Regions from separate parts of the Homo sapiens genome. Here all the other regions are linked to region 3. Evidence: promoter capture Hi-C in 16 types of primary human blood cells and fetal thymus (Javierre and others, 2016). All regions are on one chromosome and are shown on one strand. The core of a region is centred on a gene start or on the middle of the fragment in contact, and the rest is flanking DNA. Distances in the headings are between cores, read along the strand shown.

Evidence for each region. Contacts are between HindIII fragments. The CHiCAGO score rates a contact against its expected background, and 5 or more counts as called.
Region 1: the fragment with the promoter of EARS2 here is called in contact with the fragment with the promoter of RBBP6 in region 3 in 3 of 17 cell types (M0 macrophages, fetal thymus and neutrophils); the score reaches 6.0 in M0 macrophages.
Region 2: a contact is called between a fragment that was not itself captured here and the fragment with the promoter of RBBP6 in region 3, in 1 of 17 cell types (neutrophils). The highest score is 5.8, in neutrophils.
Region 4: a fragment that was not itself captured here is called in contact with the fragment with the promoter of RBBP6 in region 3 in 1 of 17 cell types (M1 macrophages); the score reaches 5.7 in M1 macrophages.
Region 5: a contact is called between a fragment that was not itself captured here and the fragment with the promoter of RBBP6 in region 3, in 4 of 17 cell types (activated CD4 T cells, total CD8 T cells, fetal thymus and 1 more). The highest score is 7.4, in activated CD4 T cells.
Region 6: a contact is called between a fragment that was not itself captured here and the fragment with the promoter of RBBP6 in region 3, in 1 of 17 cell types (neutrophils). The highest score is 5.8, in neutrophils.
Region 7: a contact is called between the fragment with the promoter of PALB2 here and the fragment with the promoter of RBBP6 in region 3, in 1 of 17 cell types (neutrophils). The highest score is 6.3, in neutrophils.

What each region holds. Positions count from the first base shown.
Region 1 is chr16:23,555,501-23,559,580 of GRCh38, forward strand. EARS2 (glutamyl-tRNA synthetase 2, mitochondrial) reads right to left here and starts at 1,850. Exons shown (of 9, transcript NM_001083614.2): 1 at 1,705-1,850. The coding sequence starts at 1,843. It overlaps UBFD1 (ubiquitin family domain containing 1), which reads left to right and starts at 2,227. Exons shown (of 7, transcript NM_019116.3): 1 at 2,227-2,267; 2 at 2,450-2,779; 3 at 3,968-4,080. The coding sequence starts at 2,243. RefSeq lists enhancers at 535-1,179, 1,540-1,819, 1,824-2,468, 2,010-2,209, 2,469-3,112 and silencers at 2,280-2,369, 2,470-2,649. The HindIII fragment of the contact is 14,256 bases long and covers 1-3,543 here.
Region 2 is chr16:23,587,165-23,590,996 of GRCh38, forward strand. It overlaps NDUFAB1 (NADH:ubiquinone oxidoreductase subunit AB1), which reads right to left. Exons shown (of 5, transcript NM_005003.3): 2 at 33-155. Among named protein-coding and RNA genes, the nearest start is that of NDUFAB1, 7.2 kb to the right of the region's middle. The HindIII fragment of the contact is 6,808 bases long and covers 1-3,832 here.
Region 3 is chr16:24,537,141-24,541,194 of GRCh38, forward strand. RBBP6 (RB binding protein 6, ubiquitin ligase) reads left to right here and starts at 2,426. Exons shown (of 18, transcript NM_006910.5): 1 at 2,426-3,652. The coding sequence starts at 3,487. RefSeq lists enhancers at 368-662, 2,089-3,083, 3,084-4,054 and silencers at 2,373-2,422, 2,693-2,872. The HindIII fragment of the contact is 3,955 bases long and covers 67-4,021 here.
Region 4 is chr16:23,788,140-23,792,137 of GRCh38, forward strand. No RefSeq gene overlaps it. Among named protein-coding and RNA genes, the nearest start is that of CHP2, 35 kb to the left of the region's middle. The HindIII fragment of the contact is 1,377 bases long and covers 1,130-2,506 here.
Region 5 is chr16:25,259,586-25,263,071 of GRCh38, forward strand. ZKSCAN2-DT (ZKSCAN2 divergent transcript) reads left to right here. Exons shown (of 1, transcript NR_170220.1): 1 at 1-1,481. Among named protein-coding and RNA genes, the nearest start is that of ZKSCAN2, 3.5 kb to the left of the region's middle. The HindIII fragment of the contact is 179 bases long and covers 1,481-1,659 here.
Region 6 is chr16:23,614,170-23,617,935 of GRCh38, forward strand. All of the region lies in intron 10 of PALB2 (partner and localizer of BRCA2), which reads right to left. Among named protein-coding and RNA genes, the nearest start is that of NDUFAB1, 20 kb to the left of the region's middle. The HindIII fragment of the contact is 2,773 bases long and covers 1-2,637 here.
Region 7 is chr16:23,639,801-23,643,401 of GRCh38, forward strand. PALB2 (partner and localizer of BRCA2) reads right to left here and starts at 1,510. Exons shown (of 13, transcript NM_024675.4): 1 at 1,310-1,510. The coding sequence starts at 1,357. DCTN5 (dynactin subunit 5) reads left to right here and starts at 1,666. Exons shown (of 6, transcript NM_032486.4): 1 at 1,666-1,790; 2 at 3,155-3,223. The coding sequence starts at 1,743. RefSeq lists a silencer at 577-811 and an enhancer at 1,939-2,728. The HindIII fragment of the contact is 17,437 bases long and covers 1-3,601 here.

The DNA of each region.
Region 1 (4,080 bases), core at 600-3,099, 980 kb before region 3:
ATAATAATTTGCACATCTAGTAAGTTACACATCTAATAAGTGGCCACGACAGAAATTTGGACCCAGGCAATCCCAGGCTTTGGCATTCTACATAAGTGCTCTTCAAAGCAAAGTGTGCAATCCAGTGCTGGTCTGAAAACAGTTGTCAGTTCACAATCAAGTACAGAAACTGAGAGTAAAGGTTTAGAAACTTTTGTTGTTGTTTTGAGATGGAGTCTCACTCTGTCACCCGGGCTGCAGTGCGGTGGCACGATCTCGGCTCACTGCAACCTCTTTCTCCTGGGTTCAAACGATTTTCAGCCTCCTGAGTAGCTGGGATTACAGGCCTGGGCCACATGCCCGGCTAATTTTTGTATTTTAGTAGAGACAAGGTTTTGCCATATTGGCCAGGCGAAACTTACATAGCAATCTGGCAGAATGATTTTACCTCTGCTAACCCAAATAAAATGAGATTGGTTTGTATTTTGGATGTTTTCAAAATTTTATTTTTCTGGTCATTATATTAATTTTGTGCAAATATTGATACACAATTGATTGGAAATTTAAAACCAGCACTTCCACAACAGATGGTTTGAAAGGCACTGCTCTAGGCTATACTGCCTGCCAGAAAGATCCTGTCATGTATAGCTGGGATTTTACTACAAAGATCTTTGTATGTTCATCCTGGGATTTGGGATGAGAGGCATACTCCGTGTAGAGAACGTAGAAGGTAGCCTTACTGGTGGGAACCAAAAGGCCCTGACGAGATCTCCAACAGGCTATACAATGGGCCTCTGTCACCCTCTAGCTTGCTAAGCTCCCAACAGCACTAGCACAGTGCCTTGGTACCTGCGATTTCCTCTACCCAGAAGGTTCCTTCTTTTTTGTTTTTGAGACACAGTTTCGCTCTTGTTGCCCAGGCTGGAGTGCAATGGCGCGATCTTGGCTCACCGCAATCTCCACCTCCTGCGTTCAAGCGATTCTCCTGCCTCAGCCTCCCAAGTAGCTGGGATTACAGGCATGCGCCACCATGCCCAGATAATTTTGTATTTTTAGTAGAGACAGGGCTTCACCATGTTGGTCAGACGGCTCTCAAGTGATCCACTTGACCTCAAGTGATGCACCCACCTCTGCCTCCCAAAGTGCTGGGATTACAAGCGTGAGCCACCGCGCCTGGCCTCCAGAAGGTTCCTTCTATAGGCTTCACATAGCGTGCTCCTTCTTGTCATTTGGATCTCAGCTCAAATGTTACCTGCTCAGTAAAGCCTTCTGGAGCGTCCTTCTTAATCCCCAGTCTCCTATCCTGTTTCACTTCCCGCATGGCACATGTGACTCTAAAATTACACTTATTTTTTATAAGTGTCTGCGGCAGCCACTAGAATGCAGACTTCCACAGAGCAAGGCCCCTACCTTTCTCAATGATCACTGTATCCCAGCGTCTACAACACCTGTTACACAGGTTGTCATCAATGCACATGTATGGAATGCATGAAAAAAAGATCGAAAGAGATGGGATGGCACAAAAAACACAAGAAACTCCTGGCAATTTGAATTATTTCCGCTCCTGCACCTCAGTTTCCGCCTCTGTAAAATGGGCTCGCGCTGCCTTAACCCTCCTCCGCCCGCCCACTCTGACACCACCGGAAAGGATTCATTCGGGAACATTCGTGGGGCGGAGACGGGACAGGGGGCCTCGGCCTGTAGCGTCACGTCCGCCAGGGTTACCTGTGGGGCTGGGAGCGAACCGCACTCGCACCGCAACCCCGGCATCAGTGCCCAGGTTGGCCTCGCGCCGTCCTACGGGGCGGCCAGAGGCCGCCGAAGGCCTCTCGCGCTGCAGCAGTCTCCTCAGGAGCGCCGCCATGTGGGATGGAATAGCACACGTGGGCTTCTCCCTGCGTCACTTCCGGGGACTGCTTCCAGCCAATCGGCCTCCGCCACAGCCAGCGCAGCCTTGCCCCTTAAAGTCACAGGCCCCCTAGCGCGAAATCCCACGCCCCCCTGGACGGCTGCGGCCGCACTCGCCACCAGGGGGCAGAGGCCAGAGAAAGGGCTATTTCCCGGACCCGCCCCCTTCAGCTTGGGAAAGCGAAAGCGTGGCAGGGGCCGGACCTGGGAGCGGAGGAGGCGGGTCTCCATAGAAACCTCCACCTGTTTCCGGCCGGGCTGTGAGAGATTAGGGGCTGCTGCGGGGGCCAATCTCAGCCAGCTCGCCTCTTCCCAGCGGCCTCTGCGGGAGCGGTGGGTGTTGTACACAATCATCATGGCGGCGGCCGGGGCCCCGGATGGTGAGTGCGGCGGGGGTGGCGGGCGCCGGGCCGGGGCTGAGGTTGCGGTCGCTCCTCTGGGGGATGCGGCCCGGCCCGGGAGGGAGAACCGCGGCTCGGGAACGGAGGTCCGGCGGCGCCCGGACAGCGTCCGTTCCCAAGCCCAGCCCGCGGCGAGCGCCCACCCCCTAACCCCCTTGCAGGCATGGAGGAACCTGGCATGGACACGGAGGCCGAGACTGTGGCTACTGAGGCTCCCGCGCGGCCCGTCAACTGCCTGGAGGCTGAAGCCGCGGCGGGGGCGGCGGCCGAGGACTCCGGCGCCGCACGAGGCAGCCTGCAGCCGGCCCCGGCCCAGCCCCCTGGGGACCCCGCAGCCCAGGCCTCGGTCAGCAACGGCGAAGACGCGGGCGGCGGCGCGGGCAGGGAGCTGGTGGACTTGAAGATCATCTGGAATAAGACCAAGCATGACGTGAAGTTCCCCCTGGACAGCACAGGCTCCGAGCTGAAACAGAAGATCCACTCGATTACAGGTAATTCCTGTGGCGCTGACAGCCAGTCTTCCCCACCCCGCCTCCTGATGGCCCTTGCACCCTACTAGGCACCTGGTGGCTTTCCTTGCATCAGGTCCCCCCATCCTTACAGCAGTCTTCTGAAGGATACTTGGATGCCCATTACTCAGCTGGGGAAAGAGACTCAAGTTTATAGAGCTAGTAAGTTGCAGAGCTGGGATTAAAGCCGAAGTCTGACGTTTAGGCCCCAGTTTCTCATTGATGTTGCTCTAACATCTCTAATTAAAAAATCACCTAAGGCGCTTGTTTTACAGCTTCTGGGCCCTTTCCCAGGAGATTCTGATTCAGTGGGTCTGGGATGTAGCCAGGAATTTATTTTTAGCAAATATCTTAGGTAATTCTTCTAAGTGAAGTTTAGGAAACGCTGCTATTGACTTTGATGCTGGTTCTTCACAGTCGATTCTGTTTCTTAATTTTACCTTGTTCATAGCTCTTTGCCATCTGAGATTTCTTTTCTTTTTCCTATTTTTTTTTTTTTTTGAGACGGAGTCTTGCTCTGTTGCCCAGGCTGGAGTGTACTGGCACCATCTTGGCTCACTGCAGCCTCCGCCTCCCAGGTTCAAGCGATTCTCCTGCCTCAGCCTCCCGAGTAGCTGGGATTACAGGTGCCCGCTACCCCGCCGGGCTAGTTTTTTTTATTTTATCCACCCACCTCGGCCTCCCGAAGTGCTGGGATTACAGGCATAAGCCATCACTCCTGGCCTTGAACTTTTTTTTTTTTTTAAAGCTTTCTACATGTAGCCTTGTAATCTCCATTAAGAACAGGAGTTTTGTCCCTATTGGCTTCTGTAGCTCTGATGCCTGTGGATTCTCACTTAATATGTGAATGATTTAGATGACTGAGGAACAACTTGGAAAGAATGAGAGCTAGTACTTACTGAACAATTATTCAATGCTAGCCACCGTACTAAATGCCCCGCATTGGTCTCTTAATCCTTGAAACAGGTCTGTACAGAAGGACTTACTCTAATAAATCTTCTACAGTTCTAGAAACTGAGGTTCAGAGGTTGTAAATCTCCCAAGTTCACAAAGCTAATAGGTGGTGGAGGCAGTATTCACTTTTTGGTCTGTTACCAAAGAGCTGTGTAGTATCCATACATTTTTCTGTCCTTCCTTCCTTTCACTGTCCACCTTCTACCTTTTCCCAAGGTCTCCCGCCTGCCATGCAGAAAGTCATGTATAAGGGACTCGTCCCCGAGGATAAAACATTGAGAGAAATAAAAGTGACCAGTGGGGCCAAGATCATGGTGGTTGGCTCCACC
Region 2 (3,832 bases), core at 155-2,654, 950 kb before region 3:
TAAAGAAAAAAATTCAAACCACCATCAGTTACCTTCTCTGGGTCAATCTTGTCATAGAGTTTCAATACGTAAAGAACACGGTCCTGGATGCCCTCTAACGTCAAAGGAGGCATGTCGCTATACTGGCGGCACAACTGTGTAACTCTACCAGGAACCTAGAGCGACGGCAGGAAGGAAACACTGTCATTGAATGGAAAATACCTCTAAATCAATGCACAAGCCTATAGGTAACTTTCACAGAACTTTCGGGGCTTTAGAGAACCCACAGCATCTGATTCTCATTGTGGCCACCAGGACACACTAAGTTGCAGGACTGGGTAATCGCAGAAGCCCCAACAGTTCAGCAGCATCTCAGGCCTCCTTCCTGGGAGTCAGGACCGGCCCCTCTGCCTCCTGGCTTCAACCCTCAGGCTCTGGACATTCATACTGCTCTGCGACACTAACTGCCACTAAAATTGTCTAGCGTCTGCAGAATGCCTGTGTCTTCTCATGGCATCTTCAGCATCCCGAGGCCTCTACAGGGTGCTGCCACCTTTAATAGGCTGACCCAAGTCAAAATAACCCAAAAGGAAAGAGCTGTCATGGTAAACCCAAAGGCAATTCAAATTGAGGACCATACACCAGAAAGGTCTAGTTTGGTTCCAGCAGTTATCTCCCTGATCTCAGCCAGGACAAAGGAAGCTGGCCTCCCACCCAAAGAGGGGATGAGGGAGCTTACAGTCACTACATTCCAATCTGTTTCCCTTCCAGCGAGGCTTGCCTCATGGCCACCAGCCAAACCATGAGCCCTTCTGGCCTGTGCCATGTTAGAGCAATACCTCACGTATCTCTGGTATTAGTCGGCTCAATGTTTAGGTATTAGGGTATTGACCAGATTTCATTCAACAAATGTGGAATGAGCTGCAATTACAGGTCAGGGGGTTTAATGCTGTGGAAGGTACGACGCAGAATCAGAGAAAACAAAACAGGGTATCTGGCAGTTTTGCTCACTACTGAAATCCCTAATCTGGCTAGTCGTGGTGGCTCACGCCTATAATCACAACACTTTGGGAGGCCACGGTGAGCAGATCACCTGAGGTCAGGAGTTCGAGACCAGCCTGGCCAACATGGTGAAACCCCGTCTCTACTAAAAATACAAAAATTAGCCAGGCGTGGTGGTGGGCGCCTGTAATCCCAGCTACTCAGGAGACTGAGGAAGGAGAATCGCTTGAATGTGGGAGGAGAGGTTGCAGTGAGCCGAGCCTGCGCCATTGCATTCCAGCCTGGGCGACAAAGCAAGACTCCGTCTCAAAAAAAAGAAAAAGAAAGAAATCCCTAATCTAAATTGGTTTGTTTACCTCCTGAAGTTGATTTTAAGTCCGAGGCTTGGCGTTCTTCAGGCATTTCCCTATAGAAAGTGGGGCTGCTTGTTAGGGCTCAGGTCCCTGAAACTCACAAAGGTCCATGAAAAATCATAATAAATACTGCCCAGAGAACCAAACCAGTATAACCTCTGTAGAAGAAACATTCATCTTGCATAAAGAACAGGTATTGGGCCGATGTGTGTCTCACACCTGTAATCCCAGCACTTTGGGAGGCCGAGGTGAGCCAATCACTTGAGGCCAGGAGTTCGAGACCAGCCTGGCCAACATGGTGAAGCCTCGTCTCTACTAAAAATACAAAAATTAGCTGGGCGTGGTGGTGTGTGCCTGTAATCCCAGCTATTCAGGTAGCTGAGGCATGAGAATTGCTTGAACCCAGACAGAGGTTGCAGTGAGCCGAGACTGTGCCACTGCACTCCACCTTGGGCCACAGAGCGAGACTCTGTCTCAAAAAAGAAAAGAAAAAGAAGTCAGTTATTAAAATCAGGTTTAGGCTGGGCGCAGTGGCTCACACCTGTAATTGCCACACTTTGGGAAGCCGAAGCAGGCGGATCACGAGGTCAGGAGTTCGACACTAGCCTGACCAACATGGAGAAACCCCGTCTCTACCAAAAATATAAGTTAGCTGGGCGTGGTAACATGTGCCTGTAATCCCATCTACTCAGGAGGCTGAAGCAGAAGAATCGCTTGAACTTGGGAGTCGGAGGTTGCAGTGAGCCAAGATCATGCCATTTACACTCCAGCATGGGTGACAGAGTGAGATTCCGTCTCAAGAAAAAAAAAAAAAAAATCAGGTTTAATCAGCAAACTAAAGAGATGAGTTGGAGAGTATGATAGATATTCTAACGAGCCTTTCTGAGTACTTTCAAGAGTTTTAGAGCATGTTTCTTTGTCTAAATGTCTAGTCTCCTTTCGTATTATACATGGGTTAAGGAGACCTTTTATACAGGCACATGACCGGCCTACTTAACAATGACTCAAATAGGTTTCCAAGTCACAAATAAAATGGAGAAGAAAGGAATAAAGAGAAAGGGGGAGAAGAAATGAGGTAATATGGCAATGGCAGAAAAGAAATTTCAGTTGGAGGGATCTAACAGAGGCTGTGTGCTTATCAAGAAATGGTACGAGGCCAGGTGTGGTGGCTCACGCCTGTAATCCCAGCACTTTGGGAGGCCAAGGTGGGCGGATCTCTTGAGGTCAGGAGTTTAAGACCAGCCTGCCCAACACAGTGAAACCTCCATCTCTACTGAAAGTCCAAAAATTAGCCGGGCATCGTGGCGTGTGCCTATAATCCCAGCTAATCAGGAGGCTGAAGTGGGAGGATCACTTGAACCTAGGAGGCAGAGGTTGCAGTGAACTGAGATCATGGCTCTACACTCCAGCCTGGGCGGCAGGGTGAGACTCTGTCTCCAAAAAGAAAAAAAAAAAAAAAAAAAAAAAGAAATGGTACGATGCCAGGTGTGGTGGCTCACGCCTGTAATCCCAACACTTTGGGAGGCCAAAGTGGAAGGATCGCTTGAGCCCAGGAGTTCCAGACCAACCTGGGCAACAAAGCAAGACCCCTGGTGAGGGTATATTCTATGTTCGTACACAACTACCCATGAGGCCAACTAGGTTGTCAGCATTGTCCTCAGCAGCTCCAGCAAGTACCTACAAGGGCCAGGTGGGCACCATGTGATTAAATTAAACGAGTCTCTGACTGGAGGCCACATGCCAATCTAGAGTGGGTGCTGCATCAGGATCAGCGTGAGGCAGTAAGTTAGTGGGCAAGAGCTCAGACGCTGAAACTAGACCACCTATGCCTGCACCATGGTGCTGGCTCTCACTAGTTGTTTGGCCTTGGGTGGGTTACTTAACCTTCTACATCTCAGTTTCCTCATCTGTAAAATGGGGATAAACAACAGTACCACACTCACAGGACTGTTGTGAAGCATCAGTGAGATGAAGTAAAGGCTTGGACATTGGCTGGCACTTAACACAGTAAGTGCTATTTAGGGTTATTTAGTAGGATCCTGAGAACAATGACCAGCAGCAGCTAGTTTGATACCTTGGCTGTAGCGTAGCCCCAAAATACTTGATCCTACTACCCTCTCATGCTCCTGCCTCTGGTCTCTTTTTTTTTTTTTTTTCAGACAGAGTCTCACTGTGTTGCCCAGGCTGGAGTGCAGTGTTGTGACCTTGGCTCACCACAACTTCTGCCTCCCAGGTTCAAGTGATTCTTATGCCTCTGCCTCCCAAGTAGCTGGGATTACAGGCGTGCACCACCATGCCTGGCTAATTTCTGTATTTTTAGTGGAGATGAGGTTTTACCATGTTGGCCAGGCTGGTCCTGAACTCCTGGTCTCAAGTGATCCACTCACCTCAGCCTCTCAAAGTGCTGGGATTACATGCATAAGCCACCACGTCCCGGCCTCCATTAATTTCTTATCAGCTCAGGCTATGATATTGCACTTTACACACATCATCTTTCT
Region 3 (4,054 bases), core at 1,176-3,675:
GGTTTGAGAATGACAAAGGTTTGAAATCCTGGGACATGGGAGCTCCAGAATTGTTACATTATGAGAAGCTTAGACAGGAATGCTTCATTCACTGTAGGATAGTACAAAAGGCTTTTTCAGGGCTTACAAAAATATTGGTAGGGAGAGAAGCGTCAGGGAGACCAGCTCCATATTACCCAAAGAAAACGGCAAAATTTACAATTCAGCTCACTGAAGAAAAAAGAAAATAAAAAGTTTTTTTTTTAAAAAAAGAAAACTGCAAAATGAAGATTAGTAAAGGAATTCAGTGAAATGGACCAAATGTAGCATTGTGTCAATTAGTCAGGCAACTCAAGTCATAGGCTTATTGCAGGTGGTGAATGCATTTTGACCTGTTTGATGTGATATGAAGTGAGGCCTCTGTAAGTGAGAATATCAAGGTTGAACAAAGTTTTTGGCAGATGAGAACGGTTGGACCAATAGACAACATTCTTTCCAAGGACATCCCCCCCTGCAGATTAGGTTATGATCCACTCTGTCATATCCTGAGGGTGTGGCCCACTTTGAGATCCCATGATGCACCACGCTGATTAAATTAGGCATTCAGTATATAAAGGGGTCGGCCACAGACGGGCAAAAGGAACAGATTCACCGCTTCGGAGTGAATTCCATGACGGCTTGCAATTTTCTCGTCGAGTTTTTCTTTCACTAGAGATAGCCCTCGCCCTTTCATTCACACAGAGGCTTTTAAGAAAAAAGCAACCAACCTGAAGAGGACCTGGCAGCAATAAGTTTTTGGTGAAATAACAAAGAGGTAAAAGTGGAAGAAACTTGTTATATATGAAAAGTACTGATGTGTGTGGTTGAGTTAAATTGTAATGGTATCTCTAGAGCTGCCCTTGACTACGGCCAAAATTTTATTGCCACGACATCTCTATGGATCACGTAAAAATGTATCCAGTTATTCAGCACGTATTTATTGAGCACCTACTATGTTCTAAGAGCTGAGGATACAGCAAAAACAAATATAAAGATAAGATTCCTATTGTCAGCCGAAGGTAGGGGTTGGGGGAGATAGATAATTAAAAAGTAAATGTGTAACTGTCAACTATCTGCAAGTGCTAGGAAGAAAAGACTAAAGGGATAGAGAAAGATCGCCATCTTATTTTAAAAAGATGGCCTTAGGAAGGCTTTTCTGGCAGGATGGTGATTAATTTTAAATCAAGTTCAGTAAGAATTTGGAGTGTGCTTGCAGGAAGTCCCTGGGAAACTCTGCTACTTCTCGGCTATAGGATCTTATTCTCAGTTGCCTAAATTCACTGAGCCTAGCCTGTAAAATTCAGAGAGGATGAGGAACATGGATTGTAAACGATAATAACTATCGTTTATGAATGTAATTTTATTATATTATGATTTTTTCTGAATGTAATAACGTCCCCATGCCCAAAGGAAAAAAAAAATTCCAATCTACTGAGGGGGTTCTTGTCACTGTTCCTGGCATTTGCGCTTAGGAATGGAATCGGGACCCTGCCACTGAGCAGGCATCCCCTTCTGCAAATTCAGAAAGTACATGATTGCTAGCTTCAGTTCCATCATCTATAAATCGGAAATAATGTCATGTTGACCACGTAGGGTTTTTGTTGTTAAATTGACATTTATTGAGCTACAGCTATTAATATTTCGGTGCATTGAGCCACGTCAATGCACCGGCATGGTCTTAGACTATGGATTTATGTGCATTTATTTAATCCAAGTAAACCAAGTACTATTTTTAATGGCATTTTACAGCCAAGGAGACCCAGGCACAGAGGGGTTAAATCTAGAGCCCCCACAGCCAGGGATCCAACCCAGACAACGTGGCTGCTGAGCCTGGCAATGTTGTTATGCGATCAGCCCTGTGCCTAGCACATAGTAAGAGCTCAATAAATCTGTATGGTGCTGGTGGCTGTTATCAGTTCTTGGCAGCGGCTGCTCCACGATTTCCACTTGTCAAGAGTATAGGGTAGCCAGTTTATTGGAAGCAGCAGCTAGGGAGCGCTTGCATAGCAACCATAGTTTTCTGCGTAGCAACCATAATGCTCACTTAAATTGGGAGGCTTAGAGGAGCTGACGGGGCCTGTGGGGAAGGGGGAGTTAGCCGGCCACCCCTAGGCAAGCCACTTTGCAGTGGAAACTGCACGCAGCCCCTGCAAGGCGAGCTCTCCCCACCGAGCCTCCCTGTGAGCCGGTCCTCCTGACGCGCAACCCCCCTCCCTTTTGAAGCAGATGGTTCTTCCCGTTGTCCCTGCTCTTTCAGTTTCCGCGCTTTGGAGTCACAAAGCGCGGGGTCACGTGGGCGGGCCGTGCGCTTTGTGACGTCAGCCGCCCCGCCTCTCGGCCCGCCTATCCGCGCACGCCAGCCCCGCCTCGCGCGCGCCGCCCGTGCAATCCCTGCTTAAGAGACCCCGCAGTGGGGCGCTCGTCCGAAGCCAGGCCGCGTCCGCCATAGTACCTGGCTTGGAGGTGTCGCCGCCGCTCGGTGAGAGCCCCCGAGCGGCAGGGGGCCAACACAAAAAGGGAGCCGGAGAAGCCCTAGCCGCTGCCCAGCAGCTTGCGGGCGTGTTCTCGCGGTTCCGGGCCTCAAGGCGACGGAAACGAAAGGCGAGCGAAGCGCGGAGGATCCGGCGAGAAGAAGCGTCAGGGAGCCTCGGCGGTGTCCCCGGGGTCCGCCGAAGCCACCCGGCCGCCGGCTGGGGCCCGGGGTGGTGAGGAAGTGCTCCGAGGCCTCGCCGAGGCCTAGCGCCGGCTTTGTGTCCGAGGCGGCGGCGGCGGCGGGGGGAGGCGGAGCCGGGGGCGGCCTGCGGGAAGGCCTCTCCTCCGCCGACCGCGCGTTTTCGGCCTAGGCCGTGGGGCCGCTCGTGGCCTCCGGGGAGCAGGCGCCAGGGGTTTGTGTGCGGTGGGGGCCTGGGCCTGGGCCTGGGGAAGCTGACGCCGGTCGTCCGGAAGCCAGGAGGAGGCGTGAGGCCGCTCGTGGACTCCGGGCCTAGGCCCTCTCCCCTCAACCTTCTCCCGGGGCCTGGGTCACCCCAATCCACGGAGAGAGAGACCCGCCGGGAGGTGCGGCCGCGCTATGGACCCCTGACCCCGTGGGGTCGCTCGGACTCTTAACGTGTGGACTGACCGCTACTGACTGCACCGCCAATCCCCCCGTCTCTGCCGGCCCCTTAGCATGAGCGAGGGGGACCCAGCCGGGTGACATTGTGCCCGTTGGCGGATTCTCGATTTCCCCTCTTCCCCGTCCTCGTCCTCCTCCTCCCCCATGAAGTGATTCTGAGTATCGGGGGGTCTCTGGATTATTGTTCTGACGAACCCCTGCTTGTGGTTGGGGGGTATTTAATCTGAGGCCTTAGGGTCCTTCGGTGTCTTTGAGTGTTTTGTGTGTACATATTTTGCTCTTAAAGTTTATAAATATACGTATATTGAGAGTGTCCACGTCTCCTCGCTGAACCTTAGGAATCCCTTGGCACCATGTCCTGTGTGCATTATAAATTTTCCTCTAAACTCAACTATGATACCGTCACCTTTGATGGGCTCCACATCTCCCTCTGCGACTTAAAGAAGCAGATTATGGGGAGAGAGAAGCTGAAAGCTGCCGACTGCGACCTGCAGATCACCAATGCGCAGACGAAAGAAGGTAAGGGCCGCTTGGTCTTAAGATATTTGGTGGCTGGAGAGAGATACTAGCTAGAAGGTGCCTGGCAGGAAGCTAACCGCCATTATGTCTCTAGTGGGGACTGTTCGTTCTAGTACTTTGGATACAACTTTCATTGATAGCCAAGGTTTGCAGCAGTTGGCCTTGGAGTTTCACTGGTTTATTTTATTTCTGCATACTTGGGTCATCTGTAACAGGCTAACCCAAAACGTGGAAGCCTGATTATTCTTCTCGCTGTTTTTTAAAATGAGGGAGGGAGGAGAGGGGGATAGCTATCTAGACTCTTTGAGTGCTTGTCTTAGGGCGTTTTCTAACTTATTTTCCATCAGGAGGGCAGGAGAGCCTGTGCAAAGCTTGTTTGTTCAATCAGCAAAAAAAAAAACA
Region 4 (3,998 bases), core at 568-3,067, 750 kb before region 3:
AACCTAGGTCAAATCCAGTGCCAATTAAGTTCAATTGGTCTTAGCCAGCATGGTCCACACCCTGGTTTTTCAGGGTTTTATCAGACCCTAGCTTCTGCAGCTATTTCAACATCTGCCTTTTGCCTAGCCATGTGAAAGTGCTGCCTGGAATTTTCTGTTCTCCTGTGACCACCCTGTATTATTCCTGTCTCACTTTGATGAAAATTTCAAAGATCAGAACTCTGTCCAAGGGGCTGGAAAATTGGGGTGGGCACAACTTTTTTTTTTTTTTGGCTGGAAGGAACATTCTGGAGGATAAGGTGGGTCACAGGGGACCTATGAAGGGGAACTTCTTAGGCCTAATTCTGCTGTAGGCATTAAGGGAGTGCTCCTAGAGCAGTGCTTGACACAGGGTAAGAGCTCAATAAGACAATGGTTAAAAGCCCAGGTGTTAAAATAGATGGATTTAGGCTCAAGTTCCATCATTCTCAGAGATCTGCCCTTTCACCAAACTTCTAGGGTGATTCTTATGCACATTATTGTTTGAGAACTGCTGAGACAGACAGTACTATTTCTGATAATTAATGCTGGTCCTCTGGAGCTTGTATTTGGGGAGGAAGAAGGATGAATCCCACTGTGAGGTCCACTTCTGTGGTTAGAATGTGGCAAAAACTTGGTTTCCTCTTCCTCTTTCCCAATAAAACCTCCATTTATTTTTTGCTGTCTACTGTCCTCCACGTGGTCATGTTCTTTACAGGAAGCGGTCTCTGACCTCAAGAAGTTAATAGTAATTGGTCTAAACCAACCATGTTTTCCTATTTCCCTTGCTTAGTGATAGGCTCAGCATGGGCACATGAAATAATTCTGGTCAATGAGACACGAGTGGGGAGTGTATTGGAGTTTCTGGCAAAGGTCTTCCTTAATGATTGAAAGGAGATTGATTGAAAGAGGGAAGAAACAGCCCCTTTATGAAAGAGGGAAGAAACAGCCCCTTTACTGTCTCTGGTTATTTGAGAACATGCTGGCTGGAGCTTGGGCAGCCATCTTGTGCCCATGACGGGGGCTGATTTAGGTCAAGGATAACAGTGGAAATCCACAAAGAAGTGGGCCTTTACTAATGTAATTGAGCTGTCAAATCAATCAACCATGAAGCTTCCCCATTTTATTATGTGAGATAATAACATTTCTTCAGTGTGTAAGGTCAGATCAGTTGCAGGCTCTGTTTCTTGCTCTGAAAGTTTTCCAGAGAGGAGGGATGGAGATGTATACTGAGAAGGCCTGAAGAAGGAGGGACTGAATAGAGGGAGAAGCCTGAGAATGGCTAGGAACTGGAGTGCATCTTTAAGGAGAGGCCCTATGAGTGGCCCAGACTTTACTGCAGCACAGTGGCTAAAATCAAGGACTTTAGAATCAGAATGTCTTGGTTCAAATTCTACCTCCACCACTTACTAGTTATATCACCTTGGGTAAATTACTTAACCTCAGTTTCATTGTTTGTAAAACAGGATCATGGTGGTATTAACCTCACAGGGTTTAAGAAGGTGAGTAGGGCTGGGCACAGTGGCTCACCCCTGTAATCCTAGCAGTTTGGGAGGCCAAGGCAGGTGGATCACTTGAGCTCAGGAGTTTAAGACCAGCCTGGACAACATGGTGAAACCCCATCTCTGCAAAAAAATACAAAAAATTAGCCAGGCATGGTGGCACATGCCTATAGTCCCAGCTACTTGGGAGGCTGAGGTGGGAGGATGGCTTGAGCCCAGGAGGCGGAGGTTGCAGGGAACAGGGATCACACCACTGCACTCCAGCCTGGGTGACACAGCCAGACCCTGTCTCAAGAAAAAAATAAAAAATAAAAAAAGATTAGTTAATAATGTAAAGTACCTAGTGTAGTGTGATCTGAGAGACCTATGTGTAATGTGCTCAGAGACTGAAACAGACACCCCTTTATCAACTAAGACAAGCCCAAGGTTAAGGAAACAAAAGTTACCTACCTAAGGTCAAGGGTTCAGGTCCTGGCAGGCATGGCAAATTTCTAAATTCCTATAGCTATAAGAAAAACCAGCTGGGCGCTGTGGCTCATGCCTGTAATCCCAGCACTTTGGCATACCTAGGAGGGCAGATTGCTTGAGTCCAGGAGTTTGAGACCAGCCTCGGCAACATGGCAAAATCTCATTTCTACAAAAAATGCAAAAATTAGTTGGATGTGGGCATACCTGTATGCCCAGCTACTCAGGAGGCTGTGAGAGGATTGCTTAAGCCTGGGAGGTGGAGGCTGCAGTGAGCCATGATTGCACCACTGCTCTCCAGCCTGGGTGACAGAGCGAGACCCTGTCTCAAAAAAGAAAAAGAAAAAGAAAAAAGTAAAATCACAGCCTTGCTAAACTCCCTAACCATAGGAGCTATATCAGGTGAATTTACGGCCCAGACCGCTACAACTCTGGACAGGGACCAGCCTTATAAACATTGTTTTCTTATATGGAACTGCAGACCTTAAGCCAGTTTCAGCGGCTTATAGAGGCTGCACACAAGCTTTCTTTGTGTCCTGTAGGTCACCTTTTGACGTAACGAGTCAAATTCCACCTCATTTTAATGCTAAAACCTGCCCCGAAGTGAACATGGGATGTATGCTACGTCCCGTGTGTGTGTGATTAAGAATGTTAAAAAGCATATAGGCTGGGTGCAGTGCCTCATGCCACTGCAGATTCCCCTTCCTGCACTTTGCCTGAATAACCAGAATCTACCCGAGACACAGTAGGTGCTTAATGATTGCCCATGAAGCAAATGTGGGGCCCTATTTCTGCTGCCAATGTTTACCCATTGCTCATGCATTTGGCTCCTCTCATAAATATGTATAGCGTTCTCCCAAACCTGCTGAATATGCATGACTATTGTATAATAAGACCTTGTGTGACACAAAACCCAACCTGCCCTTTCTCTCTTCAAAGCTAAGTGTGGTGGCTTATGCCTGTAATCCCAGTACTTTGGGAGGCTGAGGTAGCCAGATTGCTTGAGCCCAGGAGTTTGAGACCAGCCTGGGCAACATGGTGAAACCTTGTCTCTGCAAAGAAAATACAAAAATTAGCCAGGTGTGGTGGGGGCATGCCTGTAGCTCACTGTAGCCTCGAATTCCTGGACTCAAGTGATCCTCCTGCCTCAGCCTCCTGAGTAGCTAGGACTGTGATGTGTGCTACCATACTTGACTATTTTTTTTTTCTTTTTGTACAGATGAGGGTCTTTGTGTATTTCCCAGGCTGGTCTTAAACTCCTGTCCTCAAGTGATCCTCGGCCTCCCAAAGTGCTGGGATTACAGGTATAGGCCAGCATGCCCAGCCTAACCCATTTTAGACAACCAATAAGTTTTATTTTTTATTTTTAAATTTTATTTTTGGAGACAGAGTCTTGCTCTGTTGCCCAGGCTGGAATGTAGTGGCGTGATCATGGCTCACTATAGACTCCACCTCTTGGGCTCAAGCAATCCTCTTGCCTCAGCCTGCCAAGCAGCTGGGACTACAGGCACATGCCACCACACCTGGCTAATTTTTTTTCTTATTTTTATAGAGACGAGGTCTCACTATGTTTTCCAGGCTTTTATCGAACTCCTGGGTTCAAGTGATTCTCCTGCCTTGGCCTCCCAAATTGCTGGGATTATAGGTGTGAGCCGCCATGTCCAGCCCTAATAAATTTTAATAGCCAGCTCCACTTCTCTAGGAGAATGTCTCTTTGCCCATTGCTGGACATTTCAGCCTGTACAGTGTGCCCCTTGGTCTGAAGAAATGACAGTTAGCTGCCCAAATCCATGTACTATTTTTGATCCTGTTTTTTAATGGCATCGTGAATAGTTGCATCTTCCATTGGGTAAGCAAGGCCCAGTGCAGAGTCAGTGTCTATTATTGTCAAGACCCACTTGTGGTCCCCCAGGGCTACCAGTGTCGGTCTCACTTGCCAGCTACGTTCAGGGCCTTCCCACCAAGGAATCTTTTCCATAGCCCTCAGCAGCTTCTGTCTCTCTTGCTGACAAA
Region 5 (3,486 bases), core at 320-2,819, 720 kb after region 3:
GGTCGTGGTGGCTCACGCCTATAATCCCAGCATTTTGGGAGGCCAAGGCAGGTGGATCGCTTGAGGTCAGAAGTTTAAGACCAGCCTGGCCAACATGGCGAAACCCCGTCTCTACTAAAAATACAAAAATTAGCTGGGCATGGTGGCACACGCCTGTGATTCTAGCTGATTGGGAGGCTGAGGCATGAGACTCAACTTGAACCCGGGAGGCGGAGGTTGCAATGAGCTGAGATTGTGCCACTGCACTCCAGCTTGGTTGACAAAGTGAGACTCTGTGTCAAAAACAAAACAAAACAGAAAAAAAAAACAAAAGAATCAGAGCTTAGTCGTCAGGTGTCCTTAATGAAGGGGCTGGGCATTAAGAGCAAGGCGAGGAGGCAGAAGGAAAGCTTGAGCCCAGGAATTGGAGACCAGCTTGGGCAACATGGTAAGACCCTGTCTCTAAAAAAAATAAAAATTAAGAACAAGAGGAGGAATATTCATGTTTTTTCTTGGGAAGGGAGGTAGATTTTCCTGGAATCAAGGAGCTGCCCCTTTTTTTGTCCTTTTTTTGGTCTCTTCGGGTCATCACGGTGATTGTCAACTGTCATGGCAACCAGTGGGAATGTCATTTAGTACTGAAGTTGGATTAGAATGAAGCTAGAGGTTCTTCAGAGGTCGAGTAAGCTAAGAAGGAACCTATGACCACAGACAACCTGTTTTCTAAAAATAAGCAGAGTTAAATCTGAGTAGGAATTTAGCTATGTCATGGAGGCATTGCATTGGGTAACAAAAGCCAGGTAGGCGTCCAGCTAAGTCCCCTAGGCCCTGCAACGGGTAACAGCAGTACTGACTCTATGTTAGAGAAAAGCTTGCTTGCTTGAGTATAATTATTGTTTTGCCTGAGTTTGTAAACTATTCACTAAAAACAGCCACAGAAAAAAACAGGACCTTCTTCAACAGATAAAACACACAGACCCGCAGCTTTGGGAACAGGCTGATGGCCCCTGCACAGTCTAGTCACAAGGCATTGACCAAGAAAGTAATGACTAACTGCCCATCTGAGACTGCGCATGATTCACAAGAATGTTTCTTTGTTTTGTTTTTTGAGACAGTCTTGGTCTGTCTCCCAGGCTGGAGTGCAGTGATGTTGGTTCGCTGTAGCCTCTGCCTCCTGAGTAGCTGGGACTACAGGCGTGTGCCACCGCACCTGGCTAATTTTTGTATTTTTAGTAGAGATGATGTTTGACTATGTTGGCCAGGATGGTCTCGAACTCCTGACCTCAAGTGATCCACCTGCCTCGGCCTCCCAAATTGCTGGGGTTACAAGTATGAGCCACCGCTCCTGGCCCACAAGAATGTTTTGATCATTATTTCTCCTAATTTTCCTTAAAATCCCTGGATCTAGAGGCACAACTGAGAAAGGTGGTCTTTGAATGCTAGTGCACTGCCTTTTGCAGGTTGCTGGTTTCTCGAATAAAGCTAACTTTGCTTTCACCAAAGCTTGTCTTTTGAGTTTTTGGCTTTCAGGCGACGAGTGGCCTGGACACCAGTTCGGCTACATGTATGTCAGTGGGCAAAACAAAAATCCTTATTCTGGGAGGTAGATAGCTTATTAGAAAACACAACCTAATCACTTGTTTCCCAAATGTTAAAAATTGAGCCAATTTTAGCCCCAGAAGCTTAGGGTACCATGTACATAACAGGCATTACCTGAGGGTGGGGCAGAGAGAATCAGTGGGGTACCTCGTATATGCCAGGGGTTGTATCAGCATCCTTACACAGCTCATTTTTCTTTTTAAATAATACTTATTGAGGACCTATTTAATGCCAGATATGGTGGTAGGTAGGGAGCAAAAGCAGGATTCCCCTCCCATTATTGAGTTTTCAGTCTGGTGGGAGAGGCAGGAATTAAATAAGTAATCCACAAACTCAAGTACAATTCTAAGGGAGATGGGTGCCACCAAGAAGAGACATGGTGCTGAGAACCTATGTCTGTCAGAGGGATTTGATCTATTTGGGAGGTCTGGAAAGGTTTTTTTGAAGAAGCAGTGCTAGGGGTGAGATCCAAAGGAGAAGAGCTAATTAGGCAAAGCCTAGTCCTCACAAAAATCCTATAAACCAGATATGATTACCTTCATTTTAGAGTTTAGGGCATTGAGACTTGAGCAAGGTGATGTCACTGCCCAAGGTTACATCAGATTAAATGGCAACCCAGGATTCAGATTCAAATAAGAGTAGGGTTCTTTATATTCTCCTTGGGCTATTTGGTGGTTTTAGGAGAGGCAAGTATCACAAACAGCTTGGGGACATGAGGGAGCAGGAATCACAAACTTGAAAGCCTGCAGAGCTCAGGCAGATAGCATAGAGTGAAGTAGGGCAGAGTGTAAGACAATAGGGGATGGTGGGGAGTGTGGTGAGCTGAAGGCCACATTTCCTGTCTAAAGGAAGCAGCCACTAGTTCCAGTCTCTTGTTGCCATGCAGGATTACAGACCAAGCCCTGCTGGATCTTCTGATGATATTATTTTGAGGGCTTGGCGCGGTGGCTCACGCCTGTAATTGCAGCACTTAGGGAGGCCGAGGTGGGCAGATCACAAGGTCAGGAGATCGAGACCATCCTGGCTAACATGGCGAAACCCTGTCTCTACTAAAAATACAAAAAATTAGCTGGGCGTGGTGGTGGGCGCCTGTAGTCCCAGCTACTCTGGAGGCTGAGGCAGGAGAATAGCGTGAACCCGGGAGGTGGAGCTTGCAGTGAGCCGAGATCGCGCTACTGCACTCTAGCCTGGGCAACAGAGCGAGACTCCTTCTCAAAAAACAGGCTAGAGTGCAGTGGTGCAATCATAGCCCACTGCAGCTGGGACTGCAGACACATGCCACTACCCGGCTAATTTTTATATATTTTTTTCAGAGACAGGGTCTCACTATGTTGCCCAGGCTGGTCTGAAACTCCTGAGCTCAAGTGATCAGCCTGCCTTGACCTCCCGAAGTGCTGGAATTACAGGCGTGAGCCCCTGCGCCCGGCCTAGATCTTCTGATTTCTAAAAAGAAGCTGGCAGTATTTTTAGGTGAAGTTATCACACTTCTAAATAATTGGCAGTTACATGAGTTTGCCTCACTATAATGTTAACTCAGTGAAGCAGGACATTTTATGTTTTTAACCACTGTGTACTGGGAGCTTATAAAGTGCCTTACGCATAGTAAGCACTCAACCTCATCTGTGGTATGTAGCCTCTGAGCGATTCCTCCCTTGTGCGCATGGTTTCACAGTTTTTGAAGCAGTTTTATGGTCATTATTTTATCCACCAGTTTTTCAGCTGGCACCTCATTTGTCCTGATGCGGCTGCTGCAGGAAAAGTCCCCGGAAAGGCTCCCCAGGGAAATATTTAGTTGTGCCTTCCTTTTGTACCTTTCCGCCCTCTTTGTATTTTACATTTTCTCCATCCTAATGTGCCTGGCATTATACCTTGGCTCCCTCTAGTTATCCAGCCCATTTTATATTTAAT
Region 6 (3,766 bases), core at 1-2,500, 920 kb before region 3:
AGCATGTCTTAGGAGGTGACCAGGGAAAAAACTAAGAGCTCCTTAGTTTTCTTTAGTCATAGATTTAGGTAAAAGTAGAACTGTGGGTTAATTTTGCCAATAGTTTCATTTGATAGTTCAGCCTTAGATTAAATCTACAATGCCCCTAGGGATAAATCTCTCCAAATTCCATGAGGAAGGTTCCATCATCTCATTCAACCTGGTATTGAAATCAGGCACATGGTATAGCAGTATCATGATTTTGTGACACTTCTTGTTATGTCTAAATTTTCCATGGAAGACAACGGCCAGGAAACCAAATTTTGTAGGGCAAGAGACTACACCTAAAAGAGAGTTACAATTATATCTCTATTACATGTATTTATACTACAACTAGACCAAAATAATGGATAGAAGGAAGGATTGAAGTGGGGTAGGAAGAGAGGGGTGAATATAAAGAAGAAAAAAGATAAAGTTTGTTGGAATCACTTCCCAGCTTTTTTTTTTTTTTTTTTTTTTTGAGACGGAGTCTCGCTCTGTGGCCCAGGCTGGAGTGCAGTGGCGGGATCTCGGCTCACTGCAAGCTCCGCCTCCCGGGTTCACGCCATTCTCCTGCCTCAGCCTCCCGAGTAGCTGGGACTACAGGCGCCCGCCACTACGCCCGGCTAATTTTTTGTATTTTTAGTAGAGACGGGGTTTCACCGTTTTAGCCGGGATGGTCTTGATCTCCTGACCTCGTGATCCGCCCGCCTCGGCCTCCCAAAGTGCTGGGATTACAGGCGTGAGCCACCGCGCCTGGCCTTTTTTTTTTTTTTTTTTGAGATGGAGTCTCGCTCTGTCACCCAGGCTGAGTGCAGTGGTGCCATCTTGGCTCACTGCAATCTGCACCTCCCAGGTTCCAGCAATTCTTCCACCTCAGCCTTCCAAGTAGCTGGGATTACAGGCACCCACCACCATGCCTGGCTAATTTCTGTATTTTTAGTAGAGGCAGGGTTTCACCAGGTTGGCCAGGCTGGTCTTGAACTCCTGACCGTAGGTGATCCACCTGCCTCGGCCTCCCAAAGTGCTGGGATTACAGGCACGAGCCACTGCACCTGACCTGCTCCCCAGCTTTATTGAGGATTTGTGACATTGATAACTGCTTTGTCATGATACTCTATTTTTTTGTTTTTGGAGCTTAGGGTCTCGCTCCATTGCCCAAGCTGGAGTGTGGTGGCGTGATCATGACTCACCGTAGCCTTGACCTCTGAGGCTCAAGCGATCCTCCCACCTCACTGCCCCAAGTAGTTGGGACTACAGCTGCATGCCACCATGCCTGAATAATTTTTTAATTTTTTGTAGAGACAGGGTTTCACTATATTGCCCAGGCTGGTCTTGAACTCCTGGGCTCAAGCAATCCTCCCACCTCAGCCTCCCAAAGTGCTGGGATTACAGGTGTGAGAGACTGCACCTGGTTCATGTTACTCTGTTGATGAAAAACTTTCAGTTGGCTCCCATTAGCCACAACATAAAGTCCAAGTTCTTTTTTTTTTTGAGATGGAGTTTTGTTCTTGTTGCCTAGGCTGGAGTGCAATGGCACAGCCTCGGCTCACTGCAACCTCTGCCTCCCAGGTTCAAGCAATTCTCCTGCCTCAGCCTCCTGAGTAGCAGGGATTACAGGCAGGCGCCACCACACCCAGCTAATTTTTGTATTTTTAGTAGACACGGGGTACACCATGTCGGCCAGGCTGGTCTCAAACTCCTGACCTCAGGTGATCTACCCGCCTTGGCCTCCCAAAGTGCTGGAATTACAGGCGTGAGCCACCGCGCCCGGTGGTATTTATAACTCTCATGAATCCAGCAGTGCAATATTTACATTATCACTCATTGCTCCATTTCCTGAAATCTTTCTGCCTGAAGAACATATGCATTTCCTTGACTCTAGACTTTGCTCAAGCTATGCTTTCCAATGACCCCTGCTCCCCCAACTCCCTGCCACCCATTACAGAAGAGTTCCCATCCCTGTTACTGACGAATTCCCATCCATTTCTTAGGGCCTAGTTATATCCCACCCCCTCCAAGCTGCATGAACTCACTTGAGACTACAGCAGTCCACAGTCATCTCCTCTCCTTTAATTTTGTCCATATACCTCATTTGGTATGCAATATACTACTGGCAATACTGTATCATGTATTCACTCAACAAATACAGAATTCTATGGGCCAGATACTGTGTATAAAAAACTGAAGAAGGAAAATTAAATTTTTATGTGCATATGCAAAGTTTTCCTCCTATCAGGGACACCAGATGGGTGTCCTACAGAGTTTCATACATGGTCTGTATTTAGTAATTGTTCTTTCCTCAAATCCCAAATCACTTTGACCTTATGTGAATTGTAAAAAGGATTGTACTGAAATTGTAGGCTTTGATGGTAAAGGCATCTTATTTACCTACTAGATTATAGGGGCCCTGGGACCAGGATTCATATCTGATTCATCTCTGCATCTCTCACAGAGAATGGGACATAAGTAGAGACCCAGATACCTACTGAATGTTTGGAAGATATTAAATGAAATGTCTCAGTGAATATGGACAGCAAGACTTCCTTACACACTGGCCCCTCAGTGTTTAAGAATGTTTTAACGTGTTTCTTTGATATGACTTCATTGTAAACATTAAGCTTAAGAAATTTTTTTTTTTTTTTGAGACGGAGTCTCATTGTCGCCCAGGCTGGAGTGCAGTGGCGTGATCTCCGCTCACTGCAAGCTCCACCTCCCGGGTTCATGCCATTCTCCTGCCTCAGCCTCCCGAGTAGCTGGGACTACAGGCACCCACCACCACGCCTGGCGAATTTTTTGTATTTTTAGTAGAGACGGGGTTTTACCGTGTTAGCCAGGATGGACTCCATCTCCTGACCTCATCGTGATCTGCCCACCTCGGCCTCCCAAAGTGCTGGGATTACAGGCGTGAGCCACCGTGCCCGGCCAAGCTTAAGAAATATTTAGACCTTCAGCATAGTTTCCAAAAAAAGCCACTTGACACTTGAGTATAACATGAATCACTTGAGACATCTAACAAATCAGGAGTTAAATAAGAACAAATACTACATGTAAGTATAAAATTATACAGAGCCCAAAAGATAAGTAACAGCTTTTGACAGACAATATGATTAATACACCTTTGAGTAACTACCCTAAACATGGAGCTAAGGCAGGCACCAAGAATAGATATGAGACATGGTACCTGTCTTCAAAAACGAGAGAGGATAAATAACACAAAGCAGCAAATACTAAATTAAAAATCAAGGCAGGCCAGGTGCGGCAGCTTATGTCTACAATCCCAGCACTTTGGGAGGCTGAGGCGGGAGGATCACTTGCATTGAGGAGTTCACGACCAGTCTAGGCAACATGGGAAGACCCTGTCTCTACAAAAAAAAATTAAAAAAAAAAAAATTTTTTTTTTTTTAATTAGTCAAGGCTGGTGGCATGCATCTGTAGTCCTGCTACTCAGGAGGCTGAGGTGGGAGGACTGCTTGAGCCTGAGAGGTTGAGACTTCAGTGAGCCATAGTCATGCCACTGTACTCCAGCATGGGCAACAGACTGAGACCCTCTCTCAAAAAAGCAAAAACAAAAAAACAACCAAGGCAGTATGAATTCGGAGAAGGAAACATCAATGAAGGCTGGAATAGTACAACAGAACTCAAGGTAACTGTGGGGGTGAAAATATCCCCTAAGGGGAACTTAGAAGCCAAGTATAGAAATCCCTCCCCAACTTCCCAGCACTCTAGAAGGCCGAGGTGGGAGGGT
Region 7 (3,601 bases), core at 260-2,759, 900 kb before region 3:
TAGAGCGGAGAGTCTGTCTCAAAAACAAACAAAACAAAACCTATGTGCAAAACATGCTACTAGACAAGTTGCCAACCGTAAGGAATTTTCTTTTTTTTTGAGAGACAGTCTCACTCTGTCGTCCAGCCTGGCGTGCAGTGGCGCGATCTCGGCAGCTCCCTGCAACCTCAGCGTCCCCTGGTTCAAGCGATTCTCGTGCATCAGCCTCTGAGGCCTGAGCCTCTGGGACTACAGGCTGGCGTCACCACACCCGGCTAATTTTTGTATTTTTAGTAGAGACGGGGTTTCACTACGTTGCCTAGGCTGGTCTCAAACTCTGAGCTCAAGCGATCTGCCCATCTCGGCCTCCCAAAGTGCGGGGATTACAGGCGTGAGCCAGGGAGACTGGCCTCCCACCAATCTTATCAATGTCTGGGGATTATCTTGTTTACTTATAAATGATCTTTCTCACCTCCACCAGAAGGTAAGCCAGGATAAGAATAACATCAGCACAAGCTGGAAACATCCTAAAAGTCTATCAGTAAAGTACAGTCTAAAGAAGCAAGGGCACTTCCAAGGCCAGGTGCAGTGGCGGGTTCGTGTAATCCCAGCTACTCGGGAGGCTGAGGCAGGAGAGTCGCTTGATCCCAGGAAGCGGAGGTTGCAGTGAGCCGAGATCGCGCCACTGCACCCCAGCATGGGTGGCAGAGTGAGACTCTGTCTCAAAAAAGAAGAAAAACAGAAAAGGAAGAAAAAAGAAACAAAACGAGGGCACTTCCAAACTACAACATACTGTCTAGAACTTAAAAAAGAAAGCAAGGTAGATAAACATGTCCTGACAGGAAAGCTAAACGGAACCTGCAGAACCATTCAGATCATACCATTTATGAACATTCCCTTCTCCAAAAAATATACATAGGATTCCTTTTTGGTGGTTAGGGATACGCCCCTCCTCCACCACCCACATTAACACACGAAAGGACCTGGAAGTACCAGACTTAAAAGATTTACTTGAGGCCGTCCGGGGGGAGAAGTAAAGATTGAGGGTGTGGGAGGGGGGAGGAGCAAGGGTGTCGATACAGCTTTATCTACAAACTGTTACACATTGTATTAATGCGCTGCTACTGTAATGAAATTTGTTCTTTAAACGCCACCACGTGAGCACCACGCTATTTCCACATTTTCATTTTCTGTGCCCCCTCAGCCCTAAGAGGAGGGGGTGGTCAGATGATACTGCTGCCCTCGGACTGCCGAGGACACAAAGCCAGGCCTAAAACCCTGGGAAAGCGGGGTCAGAGTCCTGCGTCCGCCCTTCCCGCACCCCCGGCACCTTTTCCTTCTCCTCACAGCTGAGGGGCTTCCCGGGAGGCTCGTCCATCGGGCAGGCGACAGAACGAAAAGAGCAGCCGTCGCCGACCCCAGGCCTGCCGACACCGGGACCCAGTTGGCCCTGGGCCGGGGAGGCGCCCCAGGAAGGAATGGGGAGCCCGGGATCGCACCCTCAGTGCGCGATCAGCTGACCCACGCGGGCCAAGCGCGCCCTAAACTCCGGCCAATTAAATCCACCATTCGGCCTGCGCACGCGCAGCCGTAGACGGCCGAGCAGTGGAGCGAGGCCGCCTAAAGGAGAGCCGCGCTGTCGATGAGTCCCAGTGGGCCACCTGGAGCGGAAGTGGAGGAGCGGCCGGAAGTAGCCGGAATCTCTGAAAGACTGACCGACTGACTCTGACAGGATCCGGGGCTGAGGGAAGGAGGCGGCGGCCATGGAGTTGGGCGAGCTGCTCTACAACAAGTCTGAGTACATCGAGACGGTGCGCGGGTCCAGATATGTATCCTCCTCTTTCCAACCCTGCGTCCCTTTGAGGCCTGGTCGGCGTTCCCAACCTGCCCCTACCCCACCAACCCCTGTCCCTTTGGCCATTAGTCCCGGATTATCTAGCGATGCCCCGTGTACCGTCTGGCTTTGCTGTTTACTCCGCGCTTGGCCAGTTGAGGCCTTTTGTATTTATTCCTGATTTTCTCATAGGGGTAAAGTGCCTTCGGGAGGATAGGACAAGTCCCATCCTGTTCATACGAATTACAGCTCGGACTTCGGGCCCTTTTACACTGCCTTTTGTATCTGTTAACTTGCGCTAAAAACGATTCGGTTCTTTTTTTTTGAGGAAGGGGGTTGGGGGGCGGAGACTCTGTCGCCCAGTCCTGAGGGCCGCGGCGCGATCTCTGCTCACTGCAACCTCCGCCTCCCGGGTTCAAGCGATTCTCCTGCCTCAGCGTCTCGAGTAGCTGGGATTACAGGCGCCCGCCACCACGCCCGGCTAATTTTTGTATTTTTTGGTAGAGACGGGGTTTCACCGTGTTGGCCAGGCAGGTCCCTAACTCTTGACCTCAGGTGATCGACCCGCCTCGGCCTCCCAAAGTGCTGGCATTACAGGCGTGAGCCACCGCACCCTGCCGATTTGGTTCTTTATGATCAGTACATGATATGTTTGTAAAATCTTGGAAACAGGGCAAGTGGTCAATTAACGTTACTATCGTTATTTTGGTTTTCTTTGCTTTCTCACAACTCTGATACTCATAGTCATTATCCTCGTTTTAAGGCCGTAAAGCCCACGCGTGGAAGTGGGATTTGAATCCGCGTCTGTCTGATGCCACCAAGCTATAGACATTCAAATTATGAGTTTATTCCTTGAGTCCCTAGTTTCCTTTGTGTTTTTATTTTTTGAGACAGGTTCTCACTCTGTTGCCCAGGCTGGAGTGCAGTGGCACAATCACAGCTCATTGCAGCCTCGGCCTTCCAGGCTCAAGCGATCCTCTAGCCTCAGCCTTCTGAGGAGCTGGGACTACAGACACGCGCCACCATGCCCGGCTAATTAAAAAATTTTTTTTTTGTTGAGAAGGGGTCTCACTATGTTGCCTAGGCTGGTCTTGAGCTCCTGTCCTCAAGGGATCCGTCTGCCTCAGCCTCTCAAAGTGCTGAGATTACAGGCATGAGCCACCATACTCAGCCATAGTTTCCTAATCCATCATTGCTTTTTTGATATCCTGGACTCACTCCATTGTGGACAGCACCCCACTTTATGTTTTTTTCTCTCAAATGGGAGCTTTCTTGATGGAAACCTGTAGTCCAGAAACCTATTAAGTTTGCTTTCCCCGGTTTTCCGTTGTTTTCTTTTAGGCATCTGGGAACAAAGTCAGTCGCCAGTCAGTGTTGTGTGGAAGCCAGAACATCGTTCTCAATGGCAAGGTAAGGGACAAAGCCAGCTCCAGGCTGCAAACCTTAGCTTGCGTTCTGCTAATTGTCACCACAGCAGGGCAGATAAAATGTTGCCATATCTCCTATTTATTGTTTACATTTTTAATTCTCTTGTTTTTAAATTTTTTATTTTGTAAATTGGATCTCCTTTTTGTTTTTTTTTTGTTTCGGTTTTTTTTGAGACAGTCTCACTCTGTCGCCCAGGCTGGAGTGCAGTGGCCCCATCTCAGGTCGCTGCAACCTCCGTCTCCCAGGTTCAACCAGTTCTCCTGCCTCAGCCTCCCGAGTAGCTGGGATTACAGGCAGCTGCCACCAAGCCCGGCTAATATTTTGTATTTTTAGTAGAGACAGGGTTTCATCATGTTGGCC